Linked DNA regions of Homo sapiens: regions 1 and 3 are each linked to region 2. The links are contacts of gene promoters, found by promoter capture Hi-C in blood cells and fetal thymus (Javierre and others, 2016). All regions are on one chromosome and are shown on one strand. The core of a region is centred on a gene start or on the middle of the fragment in contact, and the rest is flanking DNA. Distances in the headings are between cores, read along the strand shown. Region 1 overlaps BECN1 (beclin 1). Region 2 holds the start of TMEM106A (transmembrane protein 106A). Region 3 overlaps AOC3 (amine oxidase copper containing 3).

What was found. The method cuts DNA at HindIII sites, captures the fragments that hold promoters and counts their contacts. A CHiCAGO score of 5 or more calls a contact.
Region 1: a fragment that was not itself captured here is called in contact with the fragment with the promoter of TMEM106A in region 2 in 2 of 17 cell types (total B cells and M1 macrophages); the score reaches 5.3 in total B cells.
Region 3: a fragment that was not itself captured here is called in contact with the fragment with the promoter of TMEM106A in region 2 in 1 of 17 cell types (naive B cells); the score reaches 5.2 in naive B cells.

What each region holds. Positions count from the first base shown.
Region 1 is chr17:42,816,079-42,818,860 of GRCh38, forward strand. It overlaps BECN1 (beclin 1), which reads right to left. Exons shown (of 12, transcript NM_001313998.2): 5 at 2,709-2,782; 6 at 2,466-2,602; 7 at 2,143-2,337. Among named protein-coding and RNA genes, the nearest start is that of MIR6781, 6.5 kb to the right of the region's middle. RefSeq lists an enhancer at 1,702-2,782. The HindIII fragment of the contact is 505 bases long and covers 1,281-1,785 here.
Region 2 is chr17:43,210,224-43,213,148 of GRCh38, forward strand. TMEM106A (transmembrane protein 106A) reads left to right here and starts at 1,652. Exons shown (of 9, transcript NM_145041.4): 1 at 1,652-1,699; 2 at 2,004-2,171; 3 at 2,798-2,925. The coding sequence starts at 2,819. It overlaps NBR1 (NBR1 autophagy cargo receptor), which reads left to right. Exons shown (of 21, transcript NM_005899.5): 21 at 1-1,465. The HindIII fragment of the contact is 182 bases long and covers 1,626-1,807 here.
Region 3 is chr17:42,855,471-42,858,501 of GRCh38, forward strand. AOC3 (amine oxidase copper containing 3) reads left to right here. Exons shown (of 4, transcript NM_003734.4): 3 at 1-103; 4 at 805-2,654. The coding sequence ends at 1,080. Among named protein-coding and RNA genes, the nearest start is that of AOC3, 5.8 kb to the left of the region's middle. The HindIII fragment of the contact is 2,658 bases long and covers 412-3,031 here.

The sequences.
Region 1 (2,782 bases), core at 283-2,782, 390 kb before region 2:
GAAGGCTGTTAGCTTGGGGGCTAAAGTTTCTCTCTCACCACACTATGAACGATTCTTTAGTGATCATCGTTACATCTAGCTCTCGCATCTTTTATATTTGGCATAGATCCCATTCTGAGGAACATGTATGTCCTAGCTGTTTTGCCTGGAAGGAACAGAAATGTCTCAAATTCCAGCTGCCCATATGCAAAAAGGTGGAGGAAAAAAGAATTCTCCCAAACCAGGGCAAAAAACCTCTTATTTCTGATCTTTTTCAGAAGTGAGGTGAATGGGTTAGGAGTGGCTTCTTGGGGCCAGGCGTGGTGGCTCACACCTGTAATCCCAGCACTTTGGGAGGCCAAGACGGGTGGATAACTTGAGGTCAGGAGTTCGAGAGCAGTCCGGCCAATGTGGTGAAACCCTGTCTCTACTAAAAATACAAAAATTAGCCAGGCGTGGTGGTGCACACCTGTAGTCCCAGCTACTTGGGAGGCTGAAGTGGCAGAATTGCTTCAACCCAGGAGGCAGAGGTTGCAGTGAGCTATCACACCACTGTACTCCAGACTGGGCAACAGAGCCGAGACTCTGTCTCAAAAAAAAAAAAAAAAAAGAGTGGCTTCTGCTTCTTCTGGGCCGGGTGCAGTGGCTCACACCTGTAATCCCAGCACTTTGGGAGGCTGAGGTGGGCAGATCACCTGAGGTCAGGAGTTAGATGCCAGCCTGGCCAACATGGTGAAATTCCGTCTCTACTAAAAAAATAAAATTAGCCAGGCGTGGTGGCGCACGCCTGTAGTCCCAGCTACTTGGGAGGCTGAGGTAGGAGAATCGCTTGAACCTGGGAGGTGGAGGTTGCAGACAACTGAGATCATGCCACTGCACTCCAGCCTAGGCAACAGAGTGAGACTCTGTCTCAAAAAAAAACCAAAATCAAAAACAAAAAACAGTGGCTTTTTCCAGCTGGCCATGGTGGCTTATGCCTGTAAACCCAGCACTTTGGGAGGCTGAGGCAGGTGGATCACTTGAGCTCAAGAGTTCAAGACCAGCCTGGGCAACATGGGGAAACTCCATCTCTATAAAAAATACAAAAATTAGCCAGGTATGGTGTTGCGCGCCTGTAGTTCCAGCTACTTGGGAGGCTGAGGCGGGAGGATTGCTTAGGTGTAGGAAGTCAAGGCCGCAGTGAGTCATGACTGCACCACTGCACTCCAGCCTGGATGACAGAGTAAGACTCTGTTTCTAAAAAAAAAAAAAACAAAAAAACAGTGGCTTCTTCCATGAACTGGCCATAATTGGCCTTCTAAAGCTTCATTTCTATACACTTACTGTCCTTTAAATAGTTACTATACCCCACTTCCAGTGAAACTTGTTATACTACTGTGTGAAAAAAATGGACTTTTCTCTATCCTTCATTTCCACAACTTCAGTTAGTATGGACACTGTGTGTCCTCCACTAGAGAGAGGGTTCTCTCAGGTCAAGGACATCTATAATGTTTTTATTTTTTGAGACAGGGTCTCAACTCTGTTGCCCAAGCTGGAGTGCAGAGGTGTGATCACAGCACACTGTAACCTCAAACTCCTGGGCTCAAGTTATCCTCCACTTCAGCCTCCTAAGTAGTTGCTAGGACTACAGGTCTACCACAGCAGCCTAATTTTTTTTTAATTTTCATTTTTGTAGAGATGGGGTCTCACTTGATATTGCCCCAGATGGCCTTAAATCCTGGCTTTAAGTGATCCTTCTGCCTTGGCCTCCCAAAGTGCTGGAATTACAGATATGAACGACCATACCTGGCCCCCATGAAATGTTTAAGCTTGGAGGGAACAAATGTAGGCTAATTAGCTCATCTTTTCAGCTAAGGATGGCTAGAAAGTGGCTGATTCATCCAAATGAGCCCATTCCCTACAGGACAGAGCCAAGACTGGAGCTCTGGTTTCTGCACTATTTAACCAACATACTTTTTTCACTTAATCATGCTGACTCTTCATAGGTAACTCTCCCAACAAACCTCTAGAAAAAGGGCATGGAAGCAATATGCAGGATCTGGGGCAGGCATGCTGCTGACTGACAGCTGACTAGTTTACAAACTATTCAGACACATTCAGCTGGAAGCCATTTCCTCTCCTGGAGCCTCGAGTGTGAGAAGATAGAACAGGGTGAGCACTCACTGAGCTTCCTCCTGATCCAGTCTCTCAGCCTCAGCCTGGACCTTCTCGAGATTTTCTGCCACTATCTTGCGGTTCTTTTCCACGTCTTCCAGCTCCTGGATCAGCCTCTCCTCCTCTAGTGCCAGCTCCTTTAGCTCCATCTGTAACTGTTCACTGTCATCCTCATTCATTTGCTCTAAGATCTCCAAACAGCGTCTGCCAAAGACACAGGCAGACTATACTTACTAGAGCTCCATTTGCCTGAGTGGAGTACGGCTCTTGGGTAAGGGCCAAGCAGTCTCAGAGCAGTAACAGCTCTGAGCCCTGGCTCTGGAGACACTCACTTGTAGTTCTGACACTCATTTTCAGTGACGTTGAGCTGAGTGTCCAGCTGGTCTAAAAGAGTATCTGTGCATTCCTCACAGAGTGGGTGATCCACATCTGTCTGGCCCGACATGATGTCAAAAAGGTCCCCAGTGACCTGGAAGTGTGGGAGAGTCAGGGTAGGGCCTCCCCCATGCTTCCTGCTCAATTACCCACTCTCCCAGCCAGGCCTACTGCTTGCCACCGGAATGGGGCCGACTTGCCTTCAGTCTTCGGCTGAGGTTCTCCATGGTGCCGCCATCAGATGCCTCCCCAATCAGAGTGAAGCTGTTGGCAC
Region 2 (2,925 bases), core at 402-2,901:
TATTTTGGGGAGCAAACTAAAGACCAGAACTTAAATTTTCACTTTAGACATTGGATGAATAGTATGAAGACAGTTTTTCAGTTGATTTGGATAAAACTATTTTAGTGCATTGACAAGTGTAACTTCAACTTCATATAGAACCATTTTTCTTTCTGCTTTTATTGAAACTGAGTATTTTTCTTTGGCTAATGTGGATTTTTTATGGGGATATCTGTTAATTTTCAGGTTTTGAAAGACATTAACCTCGGAAGTTGTTTTTAAGAATTATTCTCATAATTCTTATTCTCATAATTTCTGTAATCCACCTCAAGCTTCATAGTTATTTGGCATTGAAATAACACCCAGAGCATGATAGAAATGTTGTTACTCTTCCTCTCTCAAGGAGAAAGTAATTTTCCTGCAATACTTAATAATTGGCACCGTTGCTTTCTAAAGACTCCATGGTGCATTCAAGAGTATCCAACTTCAAGGGAATCTCCGCATTTCAATGAAAGGAGGAAGAGTGTGCTGATAAACCTACCAGCACCTATTGAGCAATGTCTATTATAGTAATTTTGCATACATTTTTATTTAAGGGAAAAAATATAGGTATTGTGAAATATTTTGCTAATCTTATAGAAAAGGAAAAAATCCCGTTATTTAAAGGGAAAAGTAAATTTAACAGTTGCCTTTTTTCTTAATGTCAGGGCAGATCTTATTTTACAGTACAGTGGGGGAAATAGAAACATGTGAAAGGCAAAAGGCAGGCTCCTAAATTAATGTCAGTGAAGTTCAGGGTGGGCAAATGAGTGTGTGTGAGGTATAGGAAATGCTGATGACTTCTTTAATGCTTGAAGTCCGTTCACAGGTATCTAGCCCTAGAATGCCTAGAACAGGAAGAGGCAGCTGGTGTTCTGCAAAACTTGGACAGGGGCAAAGTTGCTGAAAAAGTTTTGGTTTAACCCGAAGATAAGTGGAAAAGAGCTTGTCCATGAACCCAGGTTCTCACTCTGTTTACAGAAGTGTGTTGAGTACAGTTGGTGAAGGAAGAGGTAACAAAAAATGCTAAATATTTTATCCATGAAAATGACTTCCAGAAAAGGAAGAATATGAACCCCAGACCGAAGGGGAAAAGATAGTTAATAGTATTATCTAACCTGGTTGGTATTTGTAATGAATGGTGATTTTAATTAGTCATTAGCCATAATGATGTTTATTTACAGTATAACTCCTGAATGCTACTTAAATAAACCAGGATTCAAACTGCAAGCCAGCCAGGCCGTTCATTATTTAAAACGTTTTAATCGGGGCTTCCGGGTAGAAGGTGGAGCGGCAGGGTGTAATTGGGTTGATGGGTGGGACCTGTCTTGACCATCGGAGTTTTATAATCGAGGGCCAGGAGGGCCCGGGTTGCTCTCCTGGTTATGTATGTACTTGTACATAACCACCTAAAGAATGGTGAAATAAATGTTCTTGGAAATTCCTACCCGGACTGGCTAGTCCTTGCGGAAGCAGCGTCCGGGCCCTCGGGTAACGTTTGAAGAGCTGGCAGCGTCTCAGGCTGCTGCGTGGCGAAGGGGCGGACCGGGGGACGGGGGGGTGGGCCCTTAGGGGCTGGGGCGGGACTTCCCTGGGCACTGAGTCAAAGCTTGAGGGGAGTGTTCGCTCCCGCATTTTCGATTCCACTCTCTTCCGTTTCTGTCGCTGCAGTCGTCCGCGGGTAAGGCCCTCCCTAGACCCTTTATACCTACTTTACCTTTCGGAGGTCAAGACACCTCCTGTTGCCGCCTCCTCGCCCAACACACAGGCGCCCCCCGCACGGGTACCAAGCTTGACTAACGGCCTCTAGGGGTGTGTGGTGGGACTTGAAATCCTCCCTTAATGAAGTCACACCTTCTCCGTCCGCTTCCACCCGGTCGGCCCATGGCAGAGCCCCCATGTAGCCCAGGAATCGGCTTGGCCCTTCGGGGAGGTCAGCGTCCTTACTATCCCCACTCTCCAGTGCGGCACATTCGTTCCCCTAGGACTCCGGCCGGTTGCCGGCCCCAGGCGGTGCTTCTCCCCACCACCGCCCAGCTCAGCTCAGCCCAGCCCAGCCCACTCTGCCCTTAGAGGCCCTTCTCCCCAAAGACGCACTCCAGAAGTCTCGCCCTCGTGCGGCTGAGGAGCCTGGGATCCCAGACCTGAACAAGGTGAGCATCCCTATATTTTAGCCCAGAAAGATCTGTGTGGCTCACTTGCCGGCCTCGTTCTGTCACACAGAGTCCAGATTTAGCCTTGAGTTTTCCTAGTGAAAGACAGACCCTGGTATCACTATGACCCTCCTCAGGCTTTCTTACCCCGCCTCAGAAAGCAGTGAGGTGTCTGCTTTCTCCCAGGGCTTCTTTAGATAGGGGTCTTAACCACACCTGTGACCAGTCTGGCCTCCTCTCTCCTTGATTCAAAGAATCTCTTTTCTGCCCTATCCAACTTCCTTCCCTTAAACTGAATGACAGCTCAGCAACTTTTCCAGAGAAAAATTAAATGCTCTGACAATCACTTATGGAAGTTCCTTAAAGTGAAGTAACTTCTGCTTTTCTTTTGTTTTCCCTTTTGTAGGCAGATTGGTCTCTTTTAAAATAATGAAAGGAGTCGAAATGCATTGAGACTTCTGAGAGTCCCATGTGACCACCCAGTTTTTCACATCCTATCTTCCTTAGGCTTGAGCTTGCTTAAACTGTGGTGAAGCTCCTTGCCAGTCTTGAGAACTTCAAACCAAAATTACATCTGGCGTCAGTGCTAACAAGCTTAGCACTGAACTTTGGTCTTTTCTCATTAGTGAAACCCCCGCCCCTGAAGAATGGGTAAGACGTTTTCCCAGCTGGGCTCTTGGCGGGAGGATGAGAACAAGTCAATCCTGTCCTCCAAACCAGCCATTGGCAGCAAGGCTGTCAACTACTCCAGCAC
Region 3 (3,031 bases), core at 491-2,990, 350 kb before region 2:
GGAGGAGGAGCCCAGTAGCAGCAGCGTTTTCAATCAGAATGACCCTTGGGCCCCCACTGTGGATTTCAGTGACTTCATCAACAATGAGACCATTGCTGGAAAGGTCAGCTGGCCGGGGTAGAGGGTACAGGATGAGCCTTGCTTTCTCTTGGGAGGGTCCCTGAAAACCACCTGCACTTCTCAGGGGTGGTGCTGATTCCTGCCTTCTGCACTTCAGTATATCTGATCATTATCCTTTGAGGGAACCTTCCTGAGCTGGGTGTCCATATGCAGACACTGAGTGAGGCCCTGGGCCTGTCCTTGAGATCTTAGAGCCCTCTTAGTTCCAGTTTCATGGACTGAGTCCTTTCCAGGCTCCAGGACTCAGGAGGGATGGAAGTTACCAGGGAAAATGACATCTCCTGTATCTGAAGCTTCTCCCATTCCTGACTTGATGAATTTCACAATGTTGGCCTGGTTCTGCTTCCCAAGCGCTGGTTCTTTTTCCTCCACCCTTCTTTCCTCAGTTGTGGGGAACTCTTGGAGAGTTAGGGGAAGAGGAGCTGAAGTAGCCTGTGGGTGTCACCCTCTGGGGGTAGATAGGCAATGGGCGATATGATGGGAAATGTCAGAGATGGAGGCTGCAAGCCAGGGACAGGGAAGCAGGTGTTCCTAATATGAAATGGACTACTTATGCTTTGACTCCTACCCAGCAGGAAAAAATGTTTAAAGACTCATGATCCTTGGGCTGGTGAGCTGAATCCCTACCAGGGCATGTCCTCAGCAAAGCCAGACCTCGTGATCCTCTTTCTTCTCCCCTGCTAGGATTTGGTGGCCTGGGTGACAGCTGGTTTTCTGCATATCCCACATGCAGAGGACATTCCTAACACAGTGACTGTGGGGAACGGCGTGGGCTTCTTCCTCCGACCCTATAACTTCTTTGACGAAGACCCCTCCTTCTACTCTGCCGACTCCATCTACTTCCGAGGGGACCAGGATGCTGGGGCCTGCGAGGTCAACCCCCTAGCTTGCCTGCCCCAGGCTGCTGCCTGTGCCCCCGACCTCCCTGCCTTCTCCCACGGGGGCTTCTCTCACAACTAGGCGGTCCTGGGATGGGGCATGTGGCCAAGGGCTCCAGGGCCAGGGTGTGAGGGATGGGGAGCAGCTGGGCACTGGGCCGGCAGCCTGGTTCCCTCTTTCCTGTGCCAGGACTCTCTTTCTTCCACTACCCTCCCTCGCATCCGCCTCTGAGCCAGGAGCCTCCTGACCCTGTGATGCCTGACACAGGGGACACTGAACCTTGTTGATGCCAGCTGTACTGAGTTCTCATCCACAGAGGCCAGGCATGGCCCAGCCTGGAGCCGTGGCCGAGGGCTTCCCTAGATGGTTCCCTTTGTTGCTGTCTGGCTTTCCCGAATCTTTTTAGGCCACCTCCAAGGACTCTAAAAGGGGGCTATTCCCTGGAGACCCCAGAGTAGGGTTGCCAGTCCTGCAAGTCCATAGCTGAGCTGGAAAGGATGCTTCTGCTCACATTCCCTCTCATCCAGGTCCTTTCCTTCTCGTCTTCCTCTCTCTCACCTACTTCCTCCTCCTCCTCCTGTTCCTGCCTTCTCTTCTATCCTGCAATTTCTCCCGAATCCTGAGGGGATATCCCTATGTCCCAGCCCCTGGTACTCCCCCAGCCCTCAGTTTTCAGTCAAGTTCCGTCTCCTCTCCAGCCCTATGGAAGTCTCAAGGTCACGGGACCCCTAATCAGAGTGGCCAATCCCTGTGTGTCGTTCCCTTGTGTCTGTTGCTTATTGGGAGTAGGAGTTGCTCCTACCCCTGTCCTGGGGCTGGGTGTGTTTCAGGACAGCTGCTTCTGTGCATTTGTGTCTGCCTGCCTCATGCTCTCTATAGAGGAGGATGGTCATCGTGACAGCAGCAGCTCAAGTTAGCATTTCAAGTGATTTGGGGGTGCAATGATAATGAAGAATGGCCATTTTGTACCAGGGCTCTGTATTCTGCAACAGCCTGTTTGGGAGGCTGGAGTGGAAACAAAGGGTGGGCATCAAAGATGAGAAGCCAAAGCCCCTACAACTCCAGCCACCCAGCCAGGAGGGGCTGTCCAATCACATTCAGGCATGCGAATGAGCTGGGCCCTGGGTGAGGTGGGGGTCTGGCCTAGTGGGGAGGGGCCTGGCCTGGGTGGGGCAGGGCCTGGCCTGGTCCAGGCTTGGGCTCCATTCCCATCACTGCTGTCCCTCCTGAGGTCTGGATTGGGGATGGGGACAAAGAAATAGCAAGAGATGAGAAACAACAGAAACTTTTTTCTCTAAAGGACTGGTTAAATCAATTCTGATACAGCCTTACAATACAATAGTATGCAGCTAAAAAATAATTGTATGTCTTTATATACTAATATGTAATAATCTTCAGGTGAAAAAGGCAAGCCACAGAAATGTGTATAGCGCACTTCCCATTTGTGTTTCAGAAAGGAGTAGAATATAAACACATAATTGCTTATGTATGCCTATTCAGAATAAATGGGTAACACTGATTACTTTTGGGAGGGGAACCAGTAGGTTGAGGACAGGAGAGGGAAGGGTCTTAACACTTACACCCTTTTGTACATTTTGAATTTTGAACCATGTGACTGTATTACCTATTCAAAATAAACAATAAATGGGCCCAAACAGGAATTGACTTTTTTTTTTTACTGACACTTTTTTTTTTGGTGGGGAACAGGTTGGGGGTAGGGTAAAGTGGGTTAAGGAATGGGACCAGGGATGAAATTTTCTCCAGTTCTTGAGATCCAGAGAAGCAGGTGTGGCCTCTAGTAACTCCTTTTGCCTTCTCATGCTTGTACATCTTTGAGGAAATGTTAAACCTCGGTTAATTCCCTGACACACACACACCCCACCCTTTCCCTCTCTCCTGTCTTCTCTCTCTCTCAATGAGGGGCAATGAGAAGCAGTGAGGAGGGGTGACTTCTGCTTGCCAGAAGCCCAGGCCAGGGCAGGAGGTAAAGTGCAGGAAACATTCTGGATGCCACTCAGCTTCTGACCAGAAA